2 separate regions of the Homo sapiens genome follow, and region 1 is linked to region 2. The links are contacts of gene promoters, found by promoter capture Hi-C in human tissues and cell types (Jung and others, 2019). All regions are on one chromosome and are shown on one strand. Each heading gives the region's core, a stretch centred on a gene start or on the middle of the fragment in contact. The rest is flanking DNA. Distances are from core to core; before and after follow the strand shown.

Region 1 (5,393 bases), core at 2,616-5,115, 520 kb after region 2:
AGCCTCCATTAGCTGGTGTCCTGGGAATGACAGCTGTGGGCATGTGATCCTGCCGCCTTCTTGCTCACGGCCCTCCAGCGATGCCAGGGCCTTGGATCAAGTCCAGAGTCCTTGGAATAACTCTCAGTCCTTTATGCCCTGGACCCTGCCTGCCCTTCCAAAGTCGGCTCTCAGATCCTCTCTCCTTGCTGCCCCCTCCAGCAAAACCAAACCCCTTCAGGATTCCTGACTGCTTCTCCATCTTTGAGGTTGCTGTTCCCTCTGCCTGAAATGCTTTTCTTCTCCCTTTCCTCTCCACCCTGGCTGTCTCTCAGCTGCCCAGGGTTGTCTGCGTTGACCTCACAGCCCCGGGTTCTTTCCTATCACGGCAGCCCAATCGTGGACTGTCTCCCCAGCTGGAGTGAGGGGAGGGGCAGGGACTGTTTCGCCCACATTACAAGCTGTGTCCTGCACAGAGCCCGGTAAATGTTGAGTAAATGTTGCTTCTGGGGATCCCTGGACTGGCTTACTTCCTTCAGGGAGCTCTGCCCAGTGCTTAGTGGGGACTGTATATGAGACAGGCACGAGGGTCGGGCGGGCAGTCAGACCCCTTTTCAAGTGACTGATCGTCGTTATCTGTTGATGAGGTGTGGGCTGGAGTTCTTGCTGAAACGTGCCCGTGAAATGCATCTCCCTTCCTTGGCACACTGGGGCCTCCTGAGACCCTGGCTTTTGTGTTCCTGTCTTCCCCACTGCGTCTCAGCTTCCTTACTCGTGGCTGAGGCCTGAAGCAAAGGGGGTGCTTTGTACGGAGCTGCACAGGCCCAGGGAGGTGTCTCCAGTCGTCAGGGGCCCTTCTGCTGGCCAGGCCACAGCTCCAGACTGCCCTCTTGGGAGCGGGCAAAGCAGACACACTTGGGCAGGGGTGGCAGGGAAAGTGCACGTATCGTTCTTGGAACAGGTAAATGTGTGCAAATGCCCATCCTCCAGTGGGAGGTGGAGCCCATGGAGGCCCATGCAGAGTCCATGAGGGGTGGCTTCTTTCCCACAGACTGTATGGGCACCAAATGTTTCACATTGTCCTAAGTGAGGGCCCAGCAAGAAAACCTCCGGGGCTTATCCCACCTCCCCGACAGGCCGGAGGCGAGGAGGTGGCTGCCCGGGGCCTTGGCTTTTGGTGCAGCATTGAGTGCAACATCGGATCCCTAAGGGACAGAGACCAGGGGCTCAGTGCATCCAGGGGACACCTGGGAACTGGTGGGTTTGGGTTGGGGGCCTTCTGTTTGAGATGGAGGTGTGATGAGGTGTTTTCAGTCTCATGGGGTCTCTCTGGCAGGTCTATAACTTGACCCAGGAGTTCTTCCGGCACGATAAACCAGTCAATGCTGAAAGTCAAAATAGCGTGGGGGTGTTCACCCGAGAGGAGGTGCGTAACCGCATCAGGAATGACCCTGACGACCCAGAGGCTACCAAGCGCCTGAAGCTCGCCATGATCCAGCAGTACCTGAAGGTATCTTGAGGAAGACGGATTCTGGGGGCGTCTGGGTCTGAGGAGGGCTACGCTGCTCCTACCCCTGCCCAACCCCGGCGGTCACCTGGCTTCTCCTTGGGTCTTCCCGCAGGTGGAGAGCTGTGAGAGCAGCTCACACAGCATGGACGAGGTGTCCCTGAGCGCCTTCGGGGAGTGGACCGAGATCCCCGGCGCTCACCACATCATCCCCTCGGGCTTCATGCGGGTTGTGGAGCTGCTGGCGGAGGGCATCCCTGCCCACGTCATCCAGCTAGGGAAACCTGTCCGCTGCATTCACTGGGACCAGGCCTCAGCCCGCCCCAGAGGCCCTGAGATTGAGCCCCGGGGTGAGGGCGACCACAATCACGACACTGGGGAGGGTGGCCAGGGTGGAGAGGAGCCCCGGGGGGGCAGGTGGGATGAGGATGAGCAGTGGTCGGTGGTGGTGGAGTGCGAGGACTGTGAGCTGATCCCGGCGGACCATGTGATTGTGACCGTGTCGCTAGGTGTGCTAAAGAGGCAGTACACCAGTTTCTTCCGGCCAGGCCTGCCCACAGAGAAGGTGGCTGCCATCCACCGCCTGGGCATTGGCACCACCGACAAGATCTTTCTGGAATTCGAGGAGCCCTTCTGGGGCCCTGAGTGCAACAGCCTACAGTTTGTGTGGGAGGACGAAGCAGAGAGCCACACCCTCACCTACCCACCTGAGCTCTGGTACCGCAAGATCTGCGGCTTTGATGTCCTCTACCCGCCTGAGCGCTACGGCCATGTGCTGAGCGGCTGGATCTGCGGGGAGGAGGCCCTCGTCATGGAGAAGTGTGATGACGAGGCAGTGGCCGAGATCTGCACGGAGATGCTGCGTCAGTTCACAGGTGCGCCACGTGCCCCACGACCCGCTTCCCCCACCCTGCTTCTTCCTCACCTGCCCTCCTCTGGTGGACCCATGGCAGCTCTCTCCTCCCCAGACCGTGAAGCTCGGATGCTGTGCCCCACGGGAGAGCCACTGCAGGGTGCCACATTCAGCCAAAGGCTCTTCAGTTGCTGACAGTTTAGAACTTGACACACTCAGAATTATGGGCGCTGTGTCTCTTCCCCCTTTCTAAAGGCTGATGGTAAAACACTCAGAGATCACCGCCCATTGTGCTCTGTTGCTAAGAGCTGGATTTGCCTTTTACTCTCTGAGTCTTTCAGCTCAACATTTTTCACCCACTATTCCAGGAGGACCTCACGAGAACCCCCGATATTAGGCGGGGAAACATGATTATGTGTCATGTGTTTTCAGATAGATAGGAAAAGTAAGGTGGAGCGTTTTGCCGGGGGTCACAGGAGGCGCTGAGTGGGTACACAGCTCGAGCCCCAGCCTCCCTCCTTCCTCTTCTATCCTCCGTGCCTACCCCTGGCAGTCTGGTCCTCCCGGAGCCCTGGAGGTGGGGTGGGGGGTTGTCCCTTTGGGGTCATCTTCCATATGCAGCCATTTCTTATCCTCCCTCCTCTTGGCTTTTCTGACTCTCCATCAGGGAACCCCAACATTCCAAAACCTCGGCGAATCTTGCGCTCGGCCTGGGGCAGCAACCCTTACTTCCGCGGCTCCTATTCATACACGCAGGTGGGCTCCAGCGGGGCGGATGTGGAGAAGCTGGCCAAGCCCCTGCCGTACACAGAGAGCTCAAAGACAGCGGTAAGCGGGGCGTTTGGGGTGAGGAGGGGAGTTGTGGGTGTATTTTGTATGTGTGTCCGGTCCAGGGTGAGGAGGGCTAGGGTAGTGTTCACTAAGGGGTGCTCAGGTGAGGCAGGGATGGAGTAGCTTCTGTAATGAGAGAGAACACAAGGAAAAAAGTGTGCACTTAATATCTGGAAGAAAAAATGGAATCAAATTGAAACTTAAAATGTTTTCTTGATGTTATGAAAACTGAGCTATTCCATGCTGTGCTGGCCAATACGGTAGCTATCAGCCACTTTCAATTTAAATTAATTTATTAAAAATTTAAATTAATACAGTATTTTTTTTTTCTTTTTTGAGACAGGGTCTTGCTCTGTCTACACTTCAGGCTGGGGTATAGTGGTGTGATCACAGCTCACTGCAGCCTTGACCTCCTGGGCTCAAGTGATCCTCCCACCTCAGCCTCCCAACTAGCTGGGACCACAGGCATGCCGGCACGCCACCATGTCCAGCTAATTTTTGTACTTTTTTTTTTTTTTTGGTAGAGATGGGGTTTCATCATACTGCTAGGCTGGTCTTGAACTCTTGGGCTCAAGCTGTCCTCCCGCCTCAACCTCCTGAAGTGCTAGGATTATAGGAATGAGCCACCACACTTGGCCAATACAGTAAAGTTTTTGTTCCTTGGTTGCACTAGTCACATTTCAAGTTCAACAGCCACATGTGGCTAGAGGTTACCATAGTAAAGTACATAGCGATAGGAATGTCCTATTGGACAGCACTGATTCAATGGAAATGTTTTCCCAATATATTTCAGAAAATAAAGTTTAGATTACTGATGCTCCACAATATGCCAACTGTACACTAAAAAAAAAAAATCTGAAATATATATTTATGCTCCCATAAAGTGGATTTTGAGTTTCCCCCATCAAGTAGACACACACAGTAAATGTTAAAACTCAACAGTTATATTTAAAACAATTATTTGGTATAATTGGTGAAGAAGAGTTCAGTCAACCAGCATCTACTATGCCTGCCCAACGGTGCTCAGATGGAGAGAGAAAAGGGCTGGTGTTTAAAGAGAGAGAGGTCCTCAGAAAGGCCCTTTCTGCTGCCACAGCCATCCTCCTAAAAAGCAAATCTTCTCTTTTCACTTGCATCAGTTAGGACTAGTGCATGTAGCAAAAAGCAAAGCAAAGCAAACACAACTGTGACTTAAACAAGGAAAATCAAAAGGAAATCTGGAGGCAGGCAGCAGGATCCCGTATCATTAGCACCTGGCTCTCATCTTCAAGACCATCTTGTGGTCCAAGAGGGCTGCAGAAGCTCCAGTTCTCACATCTGCATCTTAGGCTAGAAGGAAGAGGAAAGGCAGATGGCAAGAAGGGAACCCTTGGAGCTGAGTCAGCTGTGTCTCTAAGCAACAGTGCACTTTAATGCTTATTGGCCAGAACATAGACACATGACTGCACCTAGCTGCTACAGAGGCTGGGCAGTATCATTTTTATTCTGGATGGCAATGGACCCAGTTAAAAATCAGGACTTTGTTATTGAGGAGAAAGAGGAGAATGGTTGGATGTGGGAGTGGTCCCAGCTACTTGGGAGGCTGAGGTGGGAGGATCACTTGAGCCCAGGAGGTCAAGGCTGACACAGTATACAACACCCCTTTCAGTGTAACAGCCTCTGTGGGCTCCTTGGTGGTGGGATTACAGCCTCACTACTCAGGGTAGGTAGATCAGTACCAGCCTCACCTGGGAGCTAGTTAGAAATGCAGATTCTCAGCCTGGCCAACATGGCGAAACCCTGTCTCTACTAAAAATACAAAATTAGCCAGGCATGGTGGTGCACACCTGTAGTTCTAGCTACTTGGGAGGCTGAGGCATGAGAATTGCTTGAAGCTGGGAGGCGGAGGTTGCAGTGAGTTGAGATCATGCCATTGCACTCCAGCCTGGGTGACAGAGCGAGACCCTGTCTCAAAACAAAAACCAAAAAACAACAACCCCTGGCGCCCTAAACACACACACACACAAATAAATAAATAAATAAAAAGAAATGCAGATTCTCAGCCTGGCCAACATGGCGAAACCCTGTCTCTACTAAAAATACAAAATTAGCCAGGCATGGTGGTGCACACCTGTAGTTCTAGCTACTTGGGAGGCTGAGGCATGAGAATTGCTTGAAGCTGGGAGGCGGAGGTTGCAGTGAGTTGAGATCATGCCATTGCACTCCAGCCTGGGTGACAGAGCG
Region 2 (4,824 bases), core at 1,918-4,417:
AGGCCTGAATGGCACCATCTATGGAGGGAGGGGTCCAGGGTGGACTTAGCTGGGAAACCCTAGCACAGGGCTCAGCACAGGGGACAAAGTGAGAGACCCCCTGCTGCAAAGACTGGCTCCTTGGACAGAAGGTGTGTGGTGAGGAATAACAAAATAATAAGCACAGCTGTGACAGAGTGACTCAACTGTACAGTCTTCCATTCTCCCCTCTAAAATGGCTCCCAGCCAGGCGGCTTGGGAGGGGGCAGTAAGCGCCGCCCCCACTCCCCCTCCACTCCCCCCCGGGCCCCTCACCCAAGCAGCGGTTCCTGGTAAAGAGCCCCCGGAAGGCTTCGCAGTCCTCACGCCGGTTCCCGCTGGCTCCGCAGTCGCACCAGGGCGCCACGCGCGCGCTCACGTTGTCCACGTAGTTAGGGGTGACGGCGGTGCCTGCGGGGACCCTGAGGGCGAAGTCATCGGCCCACCCGGGCGGAGATATCCCCTGGAGAACCCCCGCCCTCGCCCGGATCCCGGCCGCGCGTACCCACGAGGCCCGCGTAGGCGCGCAGGCAGCGGGCGCCCTGGTCCAGCAGGCAGCCGTCGGGGGCGCTGGGCGCTGGGGTGCACGAGACCTGAAAGGCCAGGAGGCGAGGCCTGCGCGGCGGGAGGGCGGTGAGCCGGAGAGAGGCCCCGTCCCCACCCTCGCCACGGCCCCGCCGCCGCCCGCGCGCACCTGCAGACCCGGCTGCGCTCGCAGAAGTTTAAGGGCTCAAGGCAGGAGGGCGGCGCGGGGCCGGGCCCCGAAAAGGCGCAGGAGGGCACGAAGGTCTGGCGCCGACGCTCGGCGCACGCGGGGCCCGCGCACGGGCAGAAGAGCAGTGCGTGGGTGAGCGCGGGCGGCCCGCGGGCGAAGAAGCGGCGCAGGGCCCGGCGGCAGCGGGCGCGGGGACAGCCCCCCTGCGCAGCCCGGCCCAGGCACTGCGCCACATACTCGGAGCGCAAACGCTGGCACCGCGCGTCCGCCGTGCAGGCTTCGGCCGCGTCCACACATCGGTTCCCTCCGACCGAGCTCGCCGACCCTGGGAAAGGCGCGGGGAGGCTGCAGGTCTCAGTGCGCCCCGCATGCACACTTCACCCAGCCCATCCACGCCCCTGGAAGGTGGGGGACACTGAAAACCCGAGAAAGCATAGAGTGTGGCCCAAAGGCGGGGCCGACTGGCACTGATCGGCTCTCCGTCGTGGGGATGGGCAGCGGCGGGCTCTGGAGGGCTCTGCAACACGTCAGGGATGGAGAGGGAGCATGGAGGCTGAGCCAGGCCTTCCCCAAAAGCTGAAGCCCCTCCTTCCCAAGCATCGCCACCATTTCTCCAGAACGGCCACACACGTCCAAAGACGGGTCCAGGGGCTCCTCCTACACTCAATGGCACTACCTGACGGGGGAACAATGAGGCTTTCTGGGGATCTGGCCAATGGAGACTTTAAAACCAGAGATGGCATAGAAGACAGTGGCTGCTCCTAGTCTCTTAATGACAGGCTGTGACGCCATACCTTTCCTCCTCTACCCCCTCCACCTCGCCGCTTATCCTCCACCATGGAGACCCTTTGGGTGGGTCTATTGATTTCTGTTTCTCCCTCCTTCCTGACCTCCTGCTCCTCCTCCTGCCCCCTGCATGGGTGTCTCCCCTCTCCAGCCCTTCCTGATGCTCCCTTGAGTCGAGGTCATCCTGCCCCATCTGCACTGGCTTCCTCCAGCCCCTCCACCCTTCATCAGCCAGGGGAGAGCGGATTCATGCAAGAGCTCTGGCCACTGAAGAACCCACTGAGTCCTGGCTGCCAGGGTGTGGATTCAGAGAAGTCCCTGACGACACACCGCCGGGCTTTGTCCTGAGCCACAGGACCCAAGGGTTCATCAGTGGTTTTAGTGACCAGGCCCCATGATAGGTGACACCCTGCTGGAGACAGAGAAGGTGCCTGGCACCCCAGTCACACACCAGGGGTTGGGTAGACAGAGGGTGAGCTCTGCCCACATGCCCACAGGCTGTGTCTAAATAGAGCCAGGATAACTGGAAGTTGGGACTTGGCAGCCCCTTCCCAGGATTTGAGTCACAAAAACCAGGCTAATCGAATCCCCCCCAGCCTCCACAAGTTCTCCAGTCTGGAGCATCTCATTCAGACTAGAAGCCTTTCTGGTGCCCAGCCTGAGTGGACGTGCACAGCCTGGCCCCTCATCCATCTCCCTGTGTGTTTGTGCACAGGGGCTACGGGGTGGTATCCCCCCCCCAGGGCTGGGAGCAGGGTGCCTCTCTGGCAATGGCTGTGTCTTTCAGGCTGTGGATTGGACCGCGTGGTGAGAGTGATTCCTGCTGTGACTTCAGCACCTGCCTCTGCAGGAAGGATGAACATAGCTCGAGGGCTTAGAATGGTCCCTGAGTGGAGGGGATAGATGGCAGCGGGGTGAGTCCTCCCTTCCTCCCCTCCCCAAAGGGCACACTTTGCTTTCCTCTCACAGCCTTGCCAGGCACATCCTCAGGTCTCAGCTGCACACACCAGCACCTGATGTTGCCTAAGGGTTTGAACCCACCTCTGCCTGTTGCTTACCTGTCACCCTTGCCCAGAACACCCTTACCCAGTCTCCACCCTCACAGCAGCTCATCTCAGCTGCAAGATCTCCTCCACCTTAAACCTTTACCAGATTCCACTTTCCACACTACACTCGGTAAAGTGACCCCTCCCTCCGCGACATCCATGCAGGGACGGAGCAGTCCAAGAAGGTGGAACAACAGATGAACAACACCGAAGATTCACCAAGGAATCTGTGTGATGGGTAGGAGGGCTGGGGCTGAGGGGAGGGTGAGAGAGTTGGGAGATGGCAGACAATAGGCAAAAGTTCCTGGGGCACGGGTGCCAAGGCTGGACTCGGGAGGGGGATGGCGGTGGTGGCTTGACGGGGCTGGGAGGTGAGGTGCTCAGCACATAGTGGGGTCAATTGCCAGGGGTCCCCAAGCCGTGCGCACAGGCCTCTCACTGGCAACCCTTCCTGTGGTTCAGCTTTTCCTGGAATATCTTGCCCTCCCACCTTGTCACTGAGGAGCAGGGACAGAGAGGCCAGGGTTCGGGGTCCAGGGGAAGAGAGGGGCGCTCACCCAGTAACAGCAGCAGCAGCAGCGCAGGCCCCAGGCAGCGGACCATGCTGGACCTTCAACAGAGAAGGATGGCTGGCAGAGCCCTAGTCTGATAGGCGCCCCCTTCCTAGTGCCTCTGGAGCAGGAGCACAGTGAAAACCCAGCTGTCTGCGCTGATACCCCTGGGAGGAGCCTTTGCTGCAGCAACTCCCCGCCCTCATTAAGTCTCCACCCCAGGCTGCACCGTCAGGTAAACCTGGGAGCCACGGGATTCGGCGCCTGAATGTGCCTAGACGGACCCCAACACACTAGCCCTGCCACGCACACCCAGCAACACACAGACAACCACCCAGGGAGACCTGGTCTCTCCCATGCTAAACTAGGAACGCTATGAAACAGCATTTTTCTTTTCCTTTTTTATATAATTCTATTTTAAACTTAAAAAAATTTTTTTGAATAGAGTTGGGGTCTCGCTCTATTGCGCAGGCTGGTCTTGAACTCCTGGGCTCAAACCATCCTCCCACCTCGGCCTCTCAAAGTGCTAGGATGACAGGTGTGAGCCACCATGCCTGGCCTATTTTAAACTTCTTATTGTTGACTAATTTTAGACTTGCAGAAAAGTTGGAAAATGTAAGCATTTTCCTTACACCCTTCACCCAGCTTCCCCTGATGGTCCATCTTACTTAATCATAGTCCAATCATTACAGCTAGGAAACTAACCTTGGTACAATCCTGTTAACGAAACTGTAGACTGTTTTGCATTTCTCATTTTTCCACTAATGTCCTTTTTCTGTTCCAAGATCCATTCTAGGATCCCACATCACAGTTGTCTCCTTATTCTCCTCAATCTGGGAGTTCCTTCATCTTTCCTTATCTTTACCCTTGACACTTTTGAAGAATCCTGGCCAGTTATTTTGCAGAATGTTTCTCTTGAGTTGTCTGATGTTTTATTCTGATCAGAATGAGACACAGCATTGTTTTGACTAACCAAAAAGTTATTCTATAAGTAAATATTGAGGTTAAAAATCTCATCCAACCTGGGCAACAGAGTAAGGCCCTGTCTCAAATAAAGTCTCAACACTAAGATTTAAAAAGTGACCAGAAAAGCCCCCACTATGATTTGTCTTGACTTTTTTTTAAAAAACAAACAAACAAACAAACAAACAAACAAAAACGATGTCTTGCTCTCTCTCTCCCTCAGGCTGGAGTGCAGTGGCACGATCTTGGCTCACTGCAACCTCCGCCTCCCAGGTTCAAGCGATTCTTCTGCCTCAGCCTCCCAGGTAGCTGGGATTACAGACGCCCGCCACCATGCCCGGCTAATTTTTGTATTTTTAGTAGAGACAAGGTTTCACCATGTTGGCCAGGCTGGTCTCGAACTTCTAACCTCAAGTGACCCGCCCACCTCTGCCTCCCAAAGTGCTGGAATTACAGACGTGAGCAACTGCGCTTGGCCTCATTAGCATCTTAAATCTCCACACAGGGGTGTGTTCCTTACTATTATAAGGAGCAAAGGATCAGTTTGAGGACAGGTAAAATAAAAATGCGCTTGCTGCCTAGAGGGAGAAGTCCCTGCTGAAGATAGCTTTGCTTGAATGAGCTCAATTGCAATGCCAGTGCTGAGGCTTGTTGACTGTACGGTCACCACAGTTGCTGCTGCGCGCCTAGAACATGGTCACTTTCTTGACTACCTATCCTGTCTCAGTACATCTGTCTGTGGTTT

Evidence for each region. Contacts are between HindIII fragments. The study calls those that stand out against the background at their distance.
Region 1: a fragment that was not itself captured here is called in contact with the fragment with the promoter of GFRA4 in region 2 in 2 of the 25 tissues and cell types used here (dorsolateral prefrontal cortex and spleen).

What each region holds. Positions count from the first base shown.
Region 1 is chr20:4,180,488-4,185,880 of GRCh38, forward strand. SMOX (spermine oxidase) reads left to right here. Exons shown (of 7, transcript NM_175839.3): 4 at 1,316-1,489; 5 at 1,602-2,361; 6 at 3,007-3,167. Among named protein-coding and RNA genes, the nearest start is that of LINC01433, 9.9 kb to the right of the region's middle. The HindIII fragment of the contact is 6,680 bases long and covers 526-5,393 here.
Region 2 is chr20:3,660,232-3,665,055 of GRCh38, forward strand. It overlaps GFRA4 (GDNF family receptor alpha 4), which reads right to left and starts at 3,168. Exons shown (of 6, transcript NM_022139.4): 1 at 3,123-3,168; 2 at 713-1,058; 3 at 524-633; 4 at 295-429; 5 at 1-18. The coding sequence starts at 3,168. RefSeq lists silencers at 544-593, 684-793. The HindIII fragment of the contact is 25,120 bases long and covers 1-4,824 here.